Regions from separate parts of the Homo sapiens genome. Here all the other regions are linked to region 3. Evidence: promoter capture Hi-C in human tissues and cell types (Jung and others, 2019). All regions are on one chromosome and are shown on one strand. The core of a region is centred on a gene start or on the middle of the fragment in contact, and the rest is flanking DNA. Distances in the headings are between cores, read along the strand shown. Region 1 has its middle 250 kb from the start of LINC00992. Region 2 overlaps LINC00992 (long intergenic non-protein coding RNA 992). Region 3 holds the start of SEMA6A (semaphorin 6A). Region 4 overlaps LOC105379138 (a long non-coding RNA gene). Region 5 has its middle 230 kb from the start of LINC00992. Region 6 has its middle 170 kb from the start of LINC00992. Region 7 overlaps LOC124900192.

What was found. The method cuts DNA at HindIII sites, captures the fragments that hold promoters and counts their contacts. A contact is called where the count stands out against the background at its distance.
Region 1: a fragment that was not itself captured here is called in contact with the fragment with the promoter of SEMA6A in region 3 in 2 of the 25 tissues and cell types used here (H1 embryonic stem cells and dorsolateral prefrontal cortex).
Region 2: a contact is called between a fragment that was not itself captured here and the fragment with the promoter of SEMA6A in region 3, in 1 of the 25 tissues and cell types used here (dorsolateral prefrontal cortex).
Region 4: a fragment that was not itself captured here is called in contact with the fragment with the promoter of SEMA6A in region 3 in 2 of the 25 tissues and cell types used here (dorsolateral prefrontal cortex and heart left ventricle).
Region 5: a contact is called between a fragment that was not itself captured here and the fragment with the promoter of SEMA6A in region 3, in 3 of the 25 tissues and cell types used here (dorsolateral prefrontal cortex, hippocampus and mesenchymal stem cells).
Region 6: a fragment that was not itself captured here is called in contact with the fragment with the promoter of SEMA6A in region 3 in 1 of the 25 tissues and cell types used here (dorsolateral prefrontal cortex).
Region 7: a contact is called between a fragment that was not itself captured here and the fragment with the promoter of SEMA6A in region 3, in 1 of the 25 tissues and cell types used here (mesenchymal stem cells).

Annotation. Positions count from the first base shown.
Region 1 is chr5:117,164,488-117,167,187 of GRCh38, reverse strand. No RefSeq gene overlaps it. Among named protein-coding and RNA genes, the nearest start is that of LINC00992, 250 kb to the left of the region's middle. The HindIII fragment of the contact is 4,589 bases long and covers 1-2,700 here.
Region 2 is chr5:117,421,186-117,423,885 of GRCh38, reverse strand. All of the region lies in intron 1 of LINC00992 (long intergenic non-protein coding RNA 992), which reads right to left. Among named protein-coding and RNA genes, the nearest start is that of LINC00992, 7.0 kb to the right of the region's middle. The HindIII fragment of the contact is 6,055 bases long and covers 1-2,700 here.
Region 3 is chr5:116,573,445-116,576,144 of GRCh38, reverse strand. SEMA6A (semaphorin 6A) reads left to right here and starts at 1,322. Exons shown (of 19, transcript NM_020796.5): 1 at 1,322-1,960. SEMA6A-AS2 (SEMA6A antisense RNA 2) reads right to left here and starts at 1,727. Exons shown (of 3, transcript NR_147170.1): 1 at 1,606-1,727. RefSeq lists a silencer at 1,487-1,566. The HindIII fragment of the contact is 11,240 bases long and covers 1-2,700 here.
Region 4 is chr5:117,274,038-117,276,737 of GRCh38, reverse strand. All of the region lies in intron 2 of LOC105379138 (a long non-coding RNA gene), which reads right to left. Among named protein-coding and RNA genes, the nearest start is that of LINC00992, 140 kb to the left of the region's middle. The HindIII fragment of the contact is 5,193 bases long and covers 1-2,700 here.
Region 5 is chr5:117,188,270-117,190,969 of GRCh38, reverse strand. No RefSeq gene overlaps it. Among named protein-coding and RNA genes, the nearest start is that of LINC00992, 230 kb to the left of the region's middle. RefSeq lists an enhancer at 1,238-1,739. The HindIII fragment of the contact is 3,333 bases long and covers 1-2,700 here.
Region 6 is chr5:117,243,882-117,246,581 of GRCh38, reverse strand. No RefSeq gene overlaps it. Among named protein-coding and RNA genes, the nearest start is that of LINC00992, 170 kb to the left of the region's middle. The HindIII fragment of the contact is 4,418 bases long and covers 1-2,700 here.
Region 7 is chr5:117,468,143-117,470,842 of GRCh38, reverse strand. The region is part of intron 1 of LOC124900192; the gene reads right to left. All of the region lies in intron 2 of LINC00992 (long intergenic non-protein coding RNA 992), which reads right to left. Among named protein-coding and RNA genes, the nearest start is that of LINC00992, 54 kb to the right of the region's middle. The HindIII fragment of the contact is 3,131 bases long and covers 1-2,700 here.

The DNA.
Region 1 (2,700 bases), core at 59-2,558, 590 kb before region 3:
GGACTAGGGTAGTAACACAAGGTATGGAGAAAAGTGAGGGGCATTTACATATAATATATGAGTAAAATTTATAGTGCTTGCTAATTAATTAGATATGGGGATGAGACTAAAAAATGATTTTTTTAAAAGCTCAATAATTTTTATTTGAGCAAGTGGGAGGAAGAGTGTGATATTGACTACACAGGAAAGACCCAGAGCTCATTGTGCGGTATGAGGTATTTATTAGTAAACAGTACTTCTGTTTTGACCTGTTATGTTTGACATGTCTATTTCATATCCAAGTAGGGATACTAACCAGGCAAATGCATATATTATGTTAGAGTTTCAGGAGAGGTCAGGTCTAGAGAAATGAATTTTAGAATCGCATAATTATTTAGAGCAAGAAACAAGAGCATGATTACCAACAAAGCAGGGCAAGTTGAACAGAGCTTATTCATAGGGCACACCAACATCAGAGATTGACCAAGGGAAGGGAAGACAAGAATCTGAGTCCTACCTGTGCAATCTTCCAACTCTATGACTTATTCAAATTAGCATCACCACTCCTCAATCTTCTCATTTTAAAATGGGGATAAATCATAATAAAAACTACCAAGGCTGGTTGGAGAATTAATGGGGATAATTCCAACTAAAACACATAACAACATCCCCAACACACAGTAGGGTTCAACAGTTATCTGCCATTAGTTTATTTGCCAAAATATTCATAGTTTTAATAGAAAAAAAAGTGGAAGCAGCCAAAATTATTTTTTAAGTAATAAAATAACTTTCAACAATCAGTGAAAACAAAGCTATATGCAAGTTGAGGAAAAGAAAAGAACAGACAGAAATAATTCTAAGTTGGTATAAAATTAGTAGTTACATATAGAAAGCTATTCAAAGAAAGAAAATTAGATTGCAGGTTCTAACCAAAGATTTTTTTTTTTTTTAATTGTAAGGGAGTAAATCCAGAAACTTTCAAGTGAGAAAGAACATCAGAATGTAACTGGATGGTAACATAAAGGCTTCTAATCTTCAGGCAATTGAAATGTTAAAATCTGCCACAGAGCAGGCCTCTACATTAATTACTATACTTTCATGTAACATTTAGCCAATAGTAAGTGTTTGCCATGGAGTTCCAAAATTCAGAGAAGAGGGTTATTTTGCGATTTCTATTGAATTCTCCTTTTTAATTAAAGCAACTCCCCATTCATAACTTAATTTTTAATACTTTGTGGGTTATAGGAAATAAAGCACTGATTGCCTTAAATAAAGAAACAGATCTGACTACATTTTTATTATTTCATTATTTCACTGCAGGAAGAAAAAGTACTCATAAATAAATACATTTTTTTCCAAATCTACATGTCTCAAGGCAACTAAAAACATCATATTCTGGGATATTCTAAATGTTCTTAATGAAGCAAGTATAATCAATTGCTTTTTGAATCAATATTTCAACAAAATGATGATAAGATGGAGTTGAATTCTCTTGCTTCTTTGCTTTGTCTAAATCTCTGAGAAAAACATTGTTTTTTCTCCCTTCATTCACGAATAAAATAATATCCCCCAGGGCAGGCACGGTGGCTCACGCCTGTAATCCCAGCACTTTGGGAGGCCAAGTCAAGAGACTGAGACCATCCTGGCCAACCTGGTGAAACCCTATCTCTCCTAAAAATACAAACATTAGCTGGGCATGGTGGCACTCTTCTGTGATCTCAGCTACACAGGAGGCTGGGGCAGGAGAATCACTTGAACCCGAGAGGCGGAGGTTGCGGTGAGCTGAGATCGCAGCACTGCACTACATCCTCACAACAGAGTGAGACTCCATCTCAAAAAAAGAAACAAACAAAAATCTCCCACCACCAAGAGTGACACAGAATTGAAAAAAAGACAAAAAACCCTGTATCTATGTAGTCACTTATGTGCAGCTGCTGAACTCTCCAAACAAACAGCTGGGCAATTATGACTATCACCCTTGTATTCTAGAACACAGTCTGAAAATCATTTGTATTTAAGTTAAAGCTTCAGTGCTTCTGCTGTGTGTTAATTCTCTCTTCCCTTCAGCATCCCTTTCCCCTTTTTCTCCCCACCTGACCCACTGCTTCCCTATTTCTCAATACAAAATTTTATCAAACCTGTTCAGCATATTTTTCCTGTAGGGGAAACAATGCTAAAGTTTATTGCCTGTACAGTTATTTTAGCAACTTAGAAATACCTATCAGCTCAGAATTTTCTATCACAAGTAAATTTGGAAGGCAGTTAATTCAAATCTTAATGTGTGTCTGAAAATATTGGTGATTCAATTCTCAGCCTGTATTTTCAAGCTTCTTCCATACATATTTCTTATAAATATTAAAGTAAGGGACATAGGATTTTGAATTCCACATCATTGCAGATAACCAGGGAAATTGCAAACTGCTTCAAGAATTATTTGGAAACTCTATATGATGATCTATGAATTTATTCATATGCATTTTATACTCCTCTCATTTGAAAGAAATTTTTAGTCTGTACCATTCTCTCCTTTGATCTTGAAGTTACATTCTTACAGATTAAAAGGGATAGACCCCTTCTTTCGTGTTCACCTTTCTTATCGTTATACTCCATCAAAATGAGAAAGCCATAAAAAACTCCATACTCTAGCCAAAGCATAGAAAGCTTTGTGTCTGGGGTTCATCAAATGTGGTGATTGACTCCTAGCACAGTGATAGTCTCACT
Region 2 (2,700 bases), core at 167-2,666, 850 kb before region 3:
ACTAATTCTTTATATAGGACCCACAGGTTATTAGAGACCAAGGTGATTTGATACAATAGAGACCAAAAGGCAATGAAACAGTATATTTAAAGAACTAAATAAACAAATTAAAAAGTCAAACTCCATAGTCAATAAACTGTCTTTCAAAATTGAAGCTAATACCTCACTGTACATATAGCAAAATTTGATAACACCAAAGAGGGAGACCAATCCACAATCACACTGGAAATTTCAAAAACAGACAGAATATAGAGATATTTATTATTTGAACCACAAAATTAATCACCTTGGCCTAACTGACTTTCATCAAATGCAGCATCCAACAACTACAGAATACATATTCTTCTCAAGTGTGCATGAAATGTTCACCAAGTTATACCACATGCTAGGCCATAAAAATAAACGTTAATACATTTTAAATGACTGAAATATTACTATCATTAGACCAAAACATAATTCAATGAGAAACCAATAATAAAAAGTTATTAGAAATATCCCAAATATTTAGAATTTGAATAGTACTTCTTTAAAAAGCTCATGACTCAAACAAAAATTTAATGGCAAATTAGAAAATATTTCAAACTGAATAATTATAAAAATACAGGTATCACATGATAGAGAATGCAGCTAAAACAGTGCTTAGAAGCTTAGAATAAAAAATATTTTAAAAAAGCCTAAGTTTTCTCTGAATAAGCAAGGAAAATAGAACAAATTAATCTCAAAGTAAATATAAAGTAATAATTAAAAGATCAAAAAGCAATAAAAGTAAAATGCATACTAGAAAGATTATTAACAAAGCTAAAAATTCTTTTAAATAATTGATAAAATTAACAGGCTACTAACAAGATTTAACACACACACAAAAGAAAAAAGACAAATTCCCAAATACAAGTATTGAAGGGTGCAAGTTAGTTGGATCATATTCATTAATAAAGAGTATTATGCATAATTTATACTGATAAATTTGACAGAGTATATGAAGTACAGAAGTCTTTAAAAAATACAATTAATAAAAACTGATCAGAAAAAAATAACACAAAACCATGATAGATATCAATCTGAAATCAAATTTTTTTGTTGATAATTCTTAAACTGGTTCCACAGTCTTACACTAACTTTTTCAGGAAATATAAGATGAATAACAGTTTCTAGGTCATTTTTTAATTGTAGTTTAAACTAAGTTCAGATCCTGCAAAGGACATTATTCATGAACATTGACACAGAAATTTCTAACCAAATATTAACACGAGAGATGACATCTGCTGGCTCCAAATTGAATTTTATGTATTGAATCCAACAATACATAAAAGACATAATACATCATTAACAAGTGAGTTCTATCTCAAGGGTGCAAGGTTGGTTCATTATTCAACAATATAATTCAATCAATATAATTTACTGTTTTTATGTATATGTTTTATATATCCATACCTTAGGTCAATTGTTCATGCAGAAATAGCCTATAAAATTATAATAATAAGAAGAAACAAACACAATAACCTAAAACAGAAAATGTTGGAGAAGGGGGAAAATCTGATTTCAGAAGTTATCACATTATTACATTCGAATGTTTTTTTAAAATAAAAAAAGAAGGCATACAAAGAAACAGGAAGGTATCACAATTTCAAATAATAATTATCAACAGAACTCTCCCTGAGAAAGACCTAATGGCAGAACTACTAGACAAAGACTTTAAACCACCTATCTTAAAGATGCTCAAAGAACTAAGAAAAGATGTGAAGGAAGTCCAACAACAGTAAAAATATTAACAACAAAAAAAATTTCAAAGAGAAGCAAACAAAAAATTATAGACCTGAAAAGTACAACGTGACATAACAAATTCACTAGGTGAATTCAAAGGCATATTTGAGTGGACAGAGAAAATGATCAGCAAACAATAATAGGAAAATGCAAATTACTGAGTCTGAGGAACAGAGAGAAAAATATTTGAAGAAAAGTGAATAGTACCAGAGGGACCAATGGAATACCATCAAGTGGACTAACATGCATACTATGTGAATCCCCAAAAGAGAAGAGATAGAGAAAGAGGAAGAGACAGTATCTGAAGAATTAAAACTTCTAAGTTTGATGAAATACATAAATACAAACATCCAAGAAGCTCAAGGAACTCCAAGTAAGATGAACTCAAATAGATCCATACCAAGACACATTATAAGCACATTTTTCAAAACCAAAGACAAAAAGAATATATAGGAATCAGCAAGAGGGAAGTAACTCATTACATACAAGTGATCTTCAATTGGATTGTCTGCAAATTTTTCATCAGAGTCTTTGGAGACTAGAAGGTAGTGAACTAATATATTCAAAGTGCTAAAAGAAAAAAAAAAACTGTGAACTAAGAATCTTATATCCAACAAAAGTGTTCTTCAAAAGTGAGAGAGAAATTAAGATATTCCAAGATAAACAAAAGCTCAGAGTGTTTATTACCAGTAGACTTTCTCTGCAAGAAATACTCAAAGGATTCCTCCAAGGAAAAATTAAGGACACTAAATAGAAACATGAGGCAAAATAAAGAAATATTTTGTTACAGTTAAATACAAGAGCAATTACAGAAGCAAATTAGATAACCTAGAAAAAATGTGCAAATTCCTGGAAATACAAAGCCTGCTAAGACTAAGTCATAAAGAAAAATAATGTCTGGTCAGGTGCAGTGGCTCATACTTGTAATCCCAGCAATTT
Region 3 (2,700 bases), core at 73-2,572:
GTGTTGACCCATGTGCATTTATTCTTCGTGAAGCCTCTTAAGCAGATGTCTGTACTTAGAGAAGCGACCAAAGAGGGAACGTGGACTTATTAGTGGTCTTAGTCCCAATTAGGGAACAGGTACAGTTTCCAATATAAAGAAACTCGGCCTAAGTGGGACTGAGACCCCGATCTCCGCACTTGCTTTTCTCAGCCAACTCCATGACTAGTAAATATCTCTCCGAGAACTGCTGGGCCGCCCGATGTTACTTTGTTTAAAGGTTGCGACTAGGATCCGTACCATCTGCGAAGCCCCCTTGGGGAGCAAGAGCCGCGGCGCGCAGTTGATTTCGGGGCGCAGCGGCAGGGGGAGGGGAACGTGGTGTGGCCCGACGAGTTGGCACAAGCCTGTAACTGCAAGACTTTGTAGCTATTGAAAGTTCAAGTGGTGAAAGAAGGCTGTGCCTGCCATTCTTCATGTGATCATAACAATAGCGCCTTGGAAGTGGTTGCGATTTTCTTCTTCCATAAACCTTTTGGGTTCTCACTGGAATTGTATGCGTGTTATTTCTGAAGTTTACTTATTTCTAAGACCAGTCCACAAAATGTGAACTTCATTAAGTTTTAAAATAGATCGCCGTCGTTAAAAACGCCATTCTCTGCACTGTAGTTTATTTGCTTACTTCACATGCTTTATTAACGTGTGTATGTGCGTAATTAATAGCTGTGTTCTTATCTTCCAAGTGTATTTTTAACCGCACCGGCTTCTATCCAATTCATCTAACTACGTAGAGCGTCCATCGCTTCTGGAATCTACCTCTTGATAACAGTAATCAGAATCAGAAAAGCTCGCCGTTCACTTACCCTCATCCTTTAAAACTTTTCCATTTAAGAAAATCGATGAACAAAACCTTTCTTGTAACTCGCTCCTGCACTACGTCTATTTTTATTTATTTTTCTGATTTGGCAGGACTCAGCAATGCTGTCCGGGATTTTTTTTTTCTTTTTTTTTTTCCTAGCTAGAGCAGATGTGGGGGTGGGGGAGGTGAGGGCTGGGCTCCAGCCAGAGTCGCCCCCGCTGAGCCTCCGCCTAGCGCGCGGTGGGGCCAGGAATCCTGGTGGAAGGAAGCGGCGCTGGCCAGTTGGTCCAAGGCTCCACCTGCAGCCACACCGCGTAGTTTCTCCGCCTCTGCCTCGCTCACTCGCACTCACATACACCACAGCTCTCCTTTGGGTCGGAGGAGACGCCAGCCAAAGTAGGCGGAGTTGCGGAAGGAGAGTCCGATCTGCGCAATCCAGTCCGGGACTTGGCTCCGCCCGGGAGCGGCGGCCTCTCCGGTGACAGAGGAGTAGTGAGCGGCACGGGGTGAGGCTGCAGCCAACTCCGCTCCCCGCGCACTCGGCTGCCCAGGCGCTCGGAACCCAGCAGCGGCGCTCCTCCGCGGTGCCGGTCGCCCGCGATGCCCGCTTAGCAGCGTGTAGCAGCGGCCAGCATCACCACACCCGCGGCACCGCGCTGCCGGCCGCAGAGCCGGGCCAGAGCCTTGCACCCCTGCCCCAGCCCCCACCCCGCCCCCCGCCCTGAAATGACTTGTTAATCGGCGCAGACACCACCAAGGGGACTCACCGAAGTGGAATCCAAGTGGAATTTGGATTTGGAGAAGAGTTTCTTGAACATTTACCCTCTTCCTTGTTGGTTTTCTTTTTCTTTTTCTTCTTTTTTTTTTTGGCTTCTTTTTTCCTCTCCCCTTCTCCGCTCGTCATTGGAGATGAACACATCGCGTTTGCATCCCAGAAAGTAGTCGCCGCGACTATTTCCCCCAAAGAGACAAGCACACATGTAGGAATGACAAAGGCTTGCGAAGGAGAGAGCGCAGCCCGCGGCCCGGAGAGATCCCCTCGATAATGGATTACTAAATGGGATACACGCTGTACCAGTTCGCTCCGAGCCCCGGCCGCCTGTCCGTCGATGCACCGAAAAGGTACGCCCCGGGCGCCCGGGCGCGCCCCACCTCCCGGGCAGCTGGACTCCAGCCTGAGGGTCCCGGGGCCGTGGCTAGCGCGTGCTGTCGGCTTTGTGGTGCCTGCGTTTTATTTTGTCTTGTGTCTCTGTTTCCCGAGCCTTGCCCGGTCCTGGGGGAGCAGCCGTGAGCCCTGCCTGCCTTTCCTCTCTGCCCTGCGCCCCAGAGTGCGTCCGGCTCCACGTCGAGAGCTTTCCCACCCGCGTTGCGCACACGCCCGGCGCCGCCCCGGGCCGCGACGGCGCGTATGGCTGTTCCTCCTGGGGGTGTGTGTGCGAGACCCAAGGCTCATCCTCCCGCGTGCCCAGCAGGGAGCAGAGCGGGCCCTAAATGGTGGGATTCTCGGAAGCTCCCTGGCCCGGTGTGTCGAAGGCAGGGGAAGGGGTTCTGCCCTCGAGGGCTGGAGGGGGTTGGGTATAACAGCGCTGTTTTCGTCCAGTGCCAGGTGGGAGAAGGGGTTCCGCGGAGACGGTGTGGAAGCGGAGAGAATCTTTTGTTGTCAGTGTGGGGTCTGGGCTGGGCTCCGTGGAGTGCAAGAAACTTGTAATGGCTCTAGGCACCCGCGCGCCCTGTCTCTCGGTGAGATCCTGGCTCCTGTGGCCGCTGCCACCAGAGGTTCCGGGCTTTGTTTGCTCGAATAAGTGTCCGGGAGCAGCCGTTCGGGTGACGCGGCGCCCCCGCCATGGGTCCTGTCCCCCGCC
Region 4 (2,700 bases), core at 44-2,543, 700 kb before region 3:
TTTGGGGTTTTACATGTTGTCATGCTTCTGGGGTCTTGCATCTCTTCTCCCCTAATTCTTCCCCTGGGGTGGGCTGTCCCCATGGACAGTGGCCTGTCAACCCTTGGGAGGGGCTGCATGCGCAGTGTGTTTACTGAAATTGTGCACATGTTCATTTGAGCCATTTCCCTTACTAGTCAAGTGTTCCCAGAGGGAAGTCATATACCAGTTAAACTGCCATTTTTCCTCTTAGTGCACATGCCTGAGCCCACTCGCCCAACTCCTATGACCTTATCGGAAAGCTGCTGATCACCAGCTTCTGGTGTTTTTTATCTATTGGGAGATTGCCTTTCCCTGGTGCTGGCTGCATCCAATTATTATTTTAGAGAGAGACAGTTTAACAACCACCTTACCATCACCTTATGGTCACCTGATAATCATGGTGGTGAGTGGAGGAAGGGTTCTGCCCTGCTCATGTCTGCCTAACTACCTACTCTAACAAAACCAATGACACAGTTATCGAAGTAAAAAATAAACCTTTCCCCACATTTCAACATGAAGTTGTGCATTTCACTTGTAACTAATACATAGTTACATATTAGGTGCTCCAGGAATCACCTAGATTTTAGTGACAAGATAAAAGATGTTTGGTTTTCACAGTGCCAGTTCATTTGCTTGTTTCCATGTTTGTTTTGTGACCCTTGGTAAGTCTGCTGTCTTGAGGGAGGTGATGTCCTGATAATCCACTGAATTTATAGTTATTCCTTTTTTGCAGAACCAACAACATACAGAACAACAACAACAAAAACTTTCCTAAACTGAGTTGTTTTTTTCTTTTTTTTTTTGTATATTGACAGATGTTTAAAAACCAAACAATACTTACTTGTTTTAACATCTTCCTCAGACATTCTTTTTTAATGTAAAAGAACGTATTGAGTTACCTGGATGAAGCTGAGTGTTGCCATCTTCTCTGAGTAAAATTGCAATATGAGATGCTTTGTGCTAAGAGTAAACAAACACTCCTCATGGGTTCCCTAGAGCAGAGGACCTCAAAATGGGATCTATGACCAGGTTTTAGGGGTCAGTAATCCCCCTGAATTCGTATGTAATGTTTTGTGTGTATATACATCACTTCCATTACATATTCAGATAAGTCTTTTATCTAAAAATTCTGCATTTCTACAGGGCACAAACCCCAACATATTTTAGAACTTTCAACCAGATGAAGTTTGGTAGGCCTATCACTCAATTGCTGAGAGATTGAGAGAGAAGTAACAAGTAAGGTCAGCTTGGAAGCATACTGTTTGTGATTAAAAGGAATAATTTGGTGACCCACTTGGAGAGAGTAATAAAATCTGCATTCTAAGTCTAGCTAACTATGAGTCTCTTTGTAGAATGCGAAGGTCTTGGTTTTTCTCCATTCACATAGTGTGTAAAACATGGTCACTGAATAAGCATGTTCTAATCAAAGTTGAGTGTTGTTTTATAATTTTATTTTACCTATTTTTCCTTTAGTTTAGTACACAGAAAAACATTTTTGTAAACCTAAGCTGTAAAGTCTTTTCTGCTGCTTTTTAGGAGAATCTAAATTGAGTTTTAAATAAGGGAAGGGAAATTGGAGTATAAATATCCTTATGTTTATAATACCTTTGCCCTTGTAGTTGGATGTAGGTGTCTTTTACACATGGGGAGAATTGGGTTCAATATGTTTTTTAAAGCAAAACAAATATCACAATCTAAAGTCAATATATATTTTCGACCCAAATTATATTCATACTGATATGATTGAAAAAGACAATGAAAAAGTCAAACTTTCGTTCCATTGTTGGAATAGTATATCATGAAGAAAGCATTTGTGGGTTGTCTCTTAAGAAATTTGGGGGGTTATTGAAAACTTTTTATTCTCTATAATAAGAATCATCATTTCTCTATAATAAGAATCATCATCTCTATAATTGGAATCATCATTCAAGTTGTTATGGGACTTGAGAGCATATTCAGAACTTTTCTCTGAGGGTCTGTTATGGAATACAGCTAGAGAACTCCATCTAGTCAGGTTTAAATTATGAATGTTTTGACTCTATTTGGGGCATGTGAGACAAATTATACATCCTGGTCAGCACACTCCTTTTGGGATGGAGCTGCCTGTTTCTATAATCATTGATGCACTCATAAACAAAGGACGACATCTTTTCCAATAAAAGATTTTAAGTATACAATTTGCAGCCCTGAGTGTAAAATGCCCCAGAATAATATGAATAGACAAAGTAGCTTAAATTCCCTTCCGATTAGAGGTCATAAAATATGAACATGCTATTTAAATACAACTCAAGAAGAAAAATGAAAAACAGACTACATTTTCTTATGGTACAAATGCTCAGCCTTACAAACATTTGCAGAGAAAAAAATTGAAAGTGTGCGTCTTGATACATGCTATAATACAAATGCATGCTAGAACCAGATTCTTGTGAATTATACCCTCTTCTCAGACACACAAGCACAATCTTCCATTTCTTGGCTGTCTGTGGATTAGAAAGAGCACAAATCTGATTTTTCTTTCAAAGGTATCTTTCTCTCTTTGTCTTGGCTTTATCTCAGTTCATTTTCCTCTTAGTGTTCATTTGACAAGCATTTTTTGTTGTCACCCACATGTCACCCATATATGTATATTCATATTCACTCCACTTAGCAAAGTAAGGTCAGAAATGGCTTAAAATAACC
Region 5 (2,700 bases), core at 84-2,583, 610 kb before region 3:
GAACTTTTTGTATATTAAAAAACAAAACAAAAAAAACGAGCCCTGTACTCAACTTACTTTTAAAATATGGACTAAAATACTCCAAACCTAAAATGAACTGAGCTCATCTTTTGCCTTTTAATCATTTGAGACAGCATATTAATCCTGATTAAGTTGAACATTATACATCATCAGTATTCATTTTCTATAAGCAATACTAGTATAAATGCTTCACAGTCTAAAGAAATTCAATTTTATTGCTTCATTTTGGGATGATGATAAAAAATGGGTGAAAGAGGTGATCATCACAACTCAAAGTGGTACACGACATTCCTTATACAAACAGGCTTTATTCACTTGCCTTCTTATAATTTTAAAGCAACTTCAATAAACTGTGTCTATGCAAATGCAGGGAGAATCCTAAAGGGAAAGTTTCATGTTGATGTATGCCAGATACAGTAATTCTTTATTTTGCACATATTCTCTCTCTCCCTCTCCCTCTCCCTCTCTCTCTCTCTAAGTGTGCTGGAACAACCTAGGAACAGAAAATTATGGTCTTTCTTAGACTTCAAAAGTTAAAAAAATGCAATGAATCATCTTGAATAAAATTTTAAATATTAGCCCTTCTACTAAGTTTTGTAGAAGTTTAAATCTAAAGTGCATGTTGAGTTAAAAGGCAAATGTAATATTCACTGACTGATTGCAACAAATGCTATAGTACTGCTTATCTTTCTCAGTTCTGTGTTCTTTCCATTACGTTGCTACTTTACATAGTTGTACTGGGGGTGAGAAGGGGTGTTCAATTAAATGAATAGGTTCCAGTACTTTGTGATTAATAGAAGATTTTATATTCTTAGATACACGCAATAATAAGTCAGAGTCAGAGCAGCATTTATAGGATGGGGAATAGAAGGAAAATTGTTTATCTAACAGATCATGGTCTTGAAAAGCTTTTATTGTCTTGGCAGGCTTGATTCCATCGCCTTCTCCTCCTGAGCCAGAGAAAGGAGCTGTCCAAACTGAAGATGTGAAGGCTAAAAAGTACTTACAACCTAGGTCCACTGTTTCTGCAGTGCTATTTGTGACAATCTGGCATTCTAGAAATGACTTTTCAACAATAAGAAAGATGTTATCCACAGATTCGAACCTTCTCTCAAAGCCAGCTTTGTTTCTCTTGTGTGCTGAGCAACGTTGGCCAAGCAAGTCTAGGCTCACCCACTGTTTGCTCCACCTCTAGCCCATCTCCATGCCTGATTGCCCCCAAAATAAATCCTTTTCCTCCAACATACAGCTCCAAAAAGACTGAAAGCCATTTTTTTTTTTTTTTTTTTACTACTCCTTAAGTGGTATTTATTTTTCTCTACTTGTCCAGTTGAATTGCTGTAATATGCCCCAGAGGGCACTGTTTCTGTCAAGCTCAGAGAAGCAGCACCAGGAGCACTGTGAGGTGCATCAGTTCTGATGCAGGCGGGTAAGTTCAGGAGCCTGGAGACTTCCAGAGACCTGCAATCCAAAGGAGAGAGCTGAGCACATGTGGAGGGCAATTCTGTTCAAAGGAGCTAAAAAGCTTGAATTAATGGTAGAGGAACCACAGGAGGTGATTGAAAGGCAAAGGTGGCTGTACCACAGAGGGGAAGATTCCTCAGCACCCAACACATTGCTCCTGCTTGGAAGTGAGGAATGTTGTGAGGACATTCCATGACTTACCCTTCCAATAACATGGATATAAACTAAACATTTTTTTCAATAACACTAGAGGAAACCTAAAGAGTAGACTTTTGTTCTGGCTCTTAAAGTACTTGTTCTCATTCTTTTCCAGGTAATCCAAATTATGTACTTATACACTATCAAATATCTGTGTGCTGTTTTCCTCTCCAGGCATGCCTTGTGATTGGGCTAATTATGAACATATACTGACATCCATTTAGAAGAAGTAAAATTACTTTCATCCCCAACACAGAAACATCTTTGCCGACAAGAAACCAAAATAATAACAATAATAATAATGGTAATAAGAAGAAGAAGAAGAAAAAGAAGAAGAAGAAGAAATAAAAAGCTTGAGTTCTCCCTGACTTGCAAGGACAAACAGTACAGAGTGAGGCTGAGCAACTCTGTGTAGAGAGAACCTCCTATAATCAGAGCCAGAAACTCTCCAATGGGAGAATTCAGCACTAGTTTAAAAAAAAAAAAAAAGTTAAAAAAGAGAAAAAAAGAAAAAGAAAAGGTGTAATTACAGGCAGGGGGAAATGTGGACTAAAATACTGCCAAGAGAAGCCTCAAGACTGGTATTCTTTAGGACCTTTCAAGTTGTTCCTTAGCTTTAAGCTGCATGGATCTGTCAAGAGTAGAATGGGGATTTGGCACTTTAGGTGAACAAAATGTCATATACTTTCACATCTGTGTCATTACATGAATAAACTCAGCAGATGGATCCAACTGTCTCTGCAGATACAGCATTTTATGCTTGTCCACACAGGTCTCACTAGCTCAACCCACACTCAGCAGGTTCAAATCTGTGGCATGATAATCAATGTCATGCCAAAATTGTGCTATAGAACTTGTGTTGTATTCTCTCCTTACATTTAATGCCTTCAGATCTCAGCACGTCTGTGAGAGTTTGCATGACTCATGTAAATGTTCTTTCTGATCCCTTAAAGCAAATAGAAGTTTTGAAGGGATGAAATTCTACTAATCTGTACTTCCTCTCTGTAAACTCACTGG
Region 6 (2,700 bases), core at 130-2,629, 670 kb before region 3:
TTCCTATTAAGCCTCAGGCAAACAGCAGCTCAGGAAAGAAAGAAAACTAAAGGGAGGGATCAGAGACAATACATATCAACCAAGAGTGAAGAGGCTGAGGCAGCTAAAATGCCTGCCCCTGCTGCAGACAGTCCAGGTCTGAAACCCCTAACTAACAATGGGAAACTCTGGATTCTCTTTGATGGCAAATGTTTCTGGTTCTTACTATGCTTTGTGCCTTCTGAATGCCTGCTGTTGCACACTAGAGGAAAATCCTTTCTCAAATCCACAAATATATCAGTCCAAAATCTAGAAAAGTTTCCTCATCCTTTCTGTATTTTATCTTGAGTATAAATTCCTCAGGCCATTTTTTCCTCCTTAATTCATGTTACCTTAGAATCTGAGTCCATTGAACATAAAACACTCTTTTCTACATTCACCCTACTACATGAAGACCATTAATGAAAAAGTTATTATGCCAATTCCTCTTTCTTTAAGTAAGAGCCTCACACACCTGAACAATCATAATGGCCCTTTATTTCATATGGTGCAGACATTGCAAATATAACTTAATAGAAACCATTTAAGTTCAAGGGTACAGTGCTTCAGTTATGAAAGGAGACCACCCTTATAGAGGTCCTTTTTACACTCCAATGGCTTCTTTGTAAAAATTATATAATAGGATAAAAGTTGGATTGAAAGGGAGGATCAGTGTTGGGGGAGGAGTGGGAGGAAGTACAGCAGGACTTTTCAGTTTATAACAATCAAAATACTACCAAATACAAAATTATCTCATTTTCTTCCAGATCCTGTGAATAGCTTTTCTATAGAAAGCTCCCAATGGTCTGCAGATTCTAGTCCCTTATAGGTGGCAAGGTTTAGAAAAGAATGCACAAAATAATGGAATTCATATGCCAAGCAGCTGTTGTCACAGCAGTTTTGCAAACTGACTCCTCCCCATCTCCTTCTTCATTCTCTCCAGTATGCCTTCTCAGTTCTTTCTTGCAGTGCCTTGCTTCCCTCCCTACAAAGCCCAGACACAACACAGCTCCTTGAGTCTGCCCCGTTCACCCGCATCAAGCCCCCTCTCTGAAATAAGTCTTTGAAATATTTTGAGGTGAGGAAAAAGCTGGAAGGGTAACTTAAAGAGCATATCTTAAGACAATTTCCTTTCTCTAAATATAATTGTTATGACTACACTCTGTTTCTCATACTTTTATTGCTCTAAAATGGAATGAAACACAAGCTTTAAACAGCACAGTCATTATAAGACCTTTTGCCAGCCGCACTACAGTTTCCATTTTCATCAGCTTGGCAATCTTTAGTTTTTTTACATTGATTTATTTCACTTACATTTTCTTAGGTATTTTTTTTCTCTTCTCTCTTTCCCTCCACTTTTCCTCCACCTCCTGTCCCCCACCTTTCTCCTCCTCCTTGTCTTCTTGCCAATTCTAATACAGTTCTTCATCTTTGACAGTTTGCACAGTGCTTGCTATACCACTTGTTTTCTGAATTATGTCCTGATGTTAAATTTGGCTGCAAAAGAGGTGTGTCCACATTCTTTTACTCCCTTGCTCCAAATTAGATTTTTTACTAATTGAAAGAGTAGGGAAAAATAATCACCTCTTTCCATATTTATAATGTATTTTATCCATTCTCTAGTTAGAGAATTATACAGTCAGTTCTTTTTATTTGCAGTAGTTGTGATCTGTAAAGTCACCTCACTGAATCGGCAAGTTCTAAAACACTGCTTCTAGCAGAAATACATGGTTAGGTTCCTGCAAGCCTCTGATCGTAACGTTTTTTGTCATCTGATCAATGCATAACCTTGTTTTATGTGTGTTTCTGTTTATAGGCACCTCATTTAATATATATTGTTGATTCATTAGCATTGAACTCATGGTCAACAGCAATATAATTCATGCCTCAATGAAGCTCATCTACCACATGTATTTTCCCCCTAAGGCATATCTTGAGCTTTCTTGAGCTCAGAAACACTAGGCAGCACTTCAGCACTATGTGTGAAGACCATTTTAAATAGTGAAATCACCAACCAAGAAACGTCAAAAAATGTGTCATTACATAGATCATTAAAAAGGACACTTGTTTACACCATGAAAGCTAAAACAAAGAGGTAGTGTCACCTTGTTTGACCCTAACTTGAGAATATATGAGTCAGGCAACTCAAATTTTTTGCCACCCTGCTCATGTCCACAAATAATGGCAAAAGCAGTGGGAGTATTGATTCTGGGGTTACAAATACATTTTAGCAAGTGAGTGAATTCTCAAATACAGAATGCAGGAATAATGAGAATCAACTGTAGTTACTTCTGGACAACAGAGTATATATATACCTTAGACAGACATACTGCTATTTCTGTGTCACTGGAAATTGTGATTCGTTGGATTATGAATCAGCATTGACTTGGGATAAATAATTGAATTACTACTTGAGTTTCATTTTCTCAGTTAAAGGCTCTTCATGAAAAAGTAAAAGATATTTTAGCCTATTTTTGCAAAATGGTAGCTGCTATTTTGTATTGTAAAGAGCTATTTGTTGTTGCTACTACAACTGTCACTGTTGCTTTTCTCCCAAAGGAAGAAGGAGAAGCAAAGAGTTTGTTTCAAAATGTGGGCTACTGAAAGCAGAATTAGGAGTCTTGAGACCAAAAGTACCAAGAGTTTTGGGTCCAGTGAGCCCCTGAGGCATGTGGAACACAA
Region 7 (2,700 bases), core at 201-2,700, 890 kb before region 3:
ACTAATAAATGGGTACAAGTCAAAACACAGAAATATATTTTAGATATTTTTCTTAGGAGAGAAAGAATGGAGTTAAAAAAGGGAAGAATTAGAATTAAAGAAAAAAAGCCATTAGATAATGGATTTTCCTACCTGCCAAATGATAAAAGTAATTTGAGATGATTTTTCCATACTAAATGAGAAACTACTAGAAAAAAATACACTATGTGGCCAGCAGTTGTGATATGTGTATTCTAGTCTGGGATATGTAGTAGAGCACGCAGGTTAAAAACAGCCTTGGAAATTAGGCCATCTATGTTGAATCCTACCTCCCTTACTAACAGTAACTTGGGAAGTTATTTAGCCTCCCTTTTCCTTGGTTTCCACAGGTAACTATCATGGAGTAGTGTCTTTAAGTGTTATTAAGATATGATATGATTAGGCCATTCGATGTGACTCTGTTACTAACTAGCACTATAACAATGAGAAAATAAGCACAGTAATGTATACGATTTCTTCTAGTTCTCAAATTTTATGCCATCATCGATTTTTGAGGGATTTTTTGCTTTTCATTTTGTTTTTAATTTAGCATCTAGGTATAATAGTTTGATCTACAGACTTGCCTGCAAAAGATCACGATTCAGACCTCTGAATTCTGTTCTCACAACTGCAATGATCAGAGGAATCCCTGATAGACGCCCACTGAGAAAAATGTCTGGGAAAAACATCCAGACCTGTCTATGATGACTTTTTTAAGGTGTCAAATTGGCAACATAAAATATGAGGGCAGAAGGAACTACAGCAGCCATTTTGTAGCATACATACATCTTCTTCCAGTCTTTCAATCAAATGCTAACTTAAGTGCTGGCTGTGAAGGTATTTTGCTGATGTAATTAAAATTGTAATTAAATAAAGTACAGGGTCTATCCTCATGAGCCTGACCTAATCAGTGGAAGCCTTTTTAAAAAGACTTAGGCACTGTCCTTAGCCATGCTCTGATATTTTTGGTCTACACTTTGTTTTTCCTTTATAGAACCTTCCCTTCCTCATTACCTGTGACAACAGCTTCATCATGAAGCTTCAGAGTTTCAGTCTGCTTGTGATCTTCACTTCCTGACTTCTTGCCCTGTGGATTCAAATTACTTCCCCACAATCATGTAAACCAATTCCTTGTGATAGCTCAGAAAATAGATAGATAAATAGATAGACTGATTGATGGATTAATAAGTATATTTGTATCTTTATTAGTATATCAATATATCTATATTGACTGCTTTTTCCCTCAACAAAACATTTCTAAGAGGTCTGGGAAATGATTCTTTTCCTCTTTTCCATCCAGTTGCCTAATTAAACTGTTGATGGCACACATTTTCTTCCTAGCAGTACAAATACCCAGGCTTAGCTTGTTGTAGCAGCCCAGCTAATGCAATTCTAATGGAGAAAATAAGTACAAAAAGATGGCCTAAAAAAAGAACATACACTAACACACACAATCCAACAGACACAAATCCAAATTTCCTTATTAACCTAAATTTTCACTCTTAGATACATATCCTTGGCCTTTACTCATAATATCACTGTACTTGGGGGCAAGTATGGGCAGTGGAAAGATGAGGCCTTATATTTTCCATATAATTTGGAGCATGCTATTAACACTAAAGAAGGATCTACTGCTTAGAATACCCATGTTGTATCAGGAATAGAGAAGGACTAGAAATAATACAAGTAACATCTCCTTGGAATGACTAAAATTTCTAAAAATTTCAATATTATTTCAACTTCTCTTCAGCATTTATTTGCATTTAAGTTTTCTAGTCTACTACTAGTATGGATAAATAGTGTAAAAGGAAAAGGTTAAAACCAAAAGGGTTACATATCTTTATATAAAGGAGAATTTCTAATGGTTACAATCCCTGTACTAAATGGGGGCCCTATTAGCTTCCATGTGTATAGTTACTATCTTTTCTTGGCCATAGGTTACCTGCGAGCCATAGCTACATAATGGAGATGACTGGTCACCAGGGGCAACTAAAAAGAAAATGGGATTGATAGGTTTAGAACCACAATAGTGCAACATCATTTCTAAAATAATGACCCATTCAGGGTCAGTTTATCATCTTTCTCCATTATATGTATTATACCAAATTTCTATGGATTTGTAAATTCAGGTTGATTATAGCAGTTAAACTCAATGCAGCCAGGCTCTATTTTGGGTTGCTGGAGTTCAGTCATAGTGATCCATTTAAAGTACTCTGATGTATAATTAAGTGGCTAAATTTACATACTTAAATTGTAATAAAAGTAGCCATAGGATATTCTCTCTTGCACATTTAATTCATTATATTAACCATATTTGGAGCACATAGAAGAGTTTTCAGTAGGGAATGTTCTGAAAAATATGTGACTGTAAAGCTCTACTAAATTGCCTATTAAAAAAATGTTCTTTTTTGTAATCAATCAAAACAAAATGTACTGAATCCTCACCTAGAAAAGCATTATGCAATCTACAACTTATAGGAGTAGGATAATGTTCAGAGAAGAGCTACAAAGATGATTAACATGTTGGACTACAAGAGCAATTTTAGAGGCTAAAGGGACAGAGATTGTTTAGCCTGGAGGAGGATGGCTTATTGATGGTCTTCAAATATATGAGTGGTTTCTCTGCAGAGGATGGTAACCTGCTGTTTTCCATCTTTTCTGAAGACAAGACAAAAGGAAATA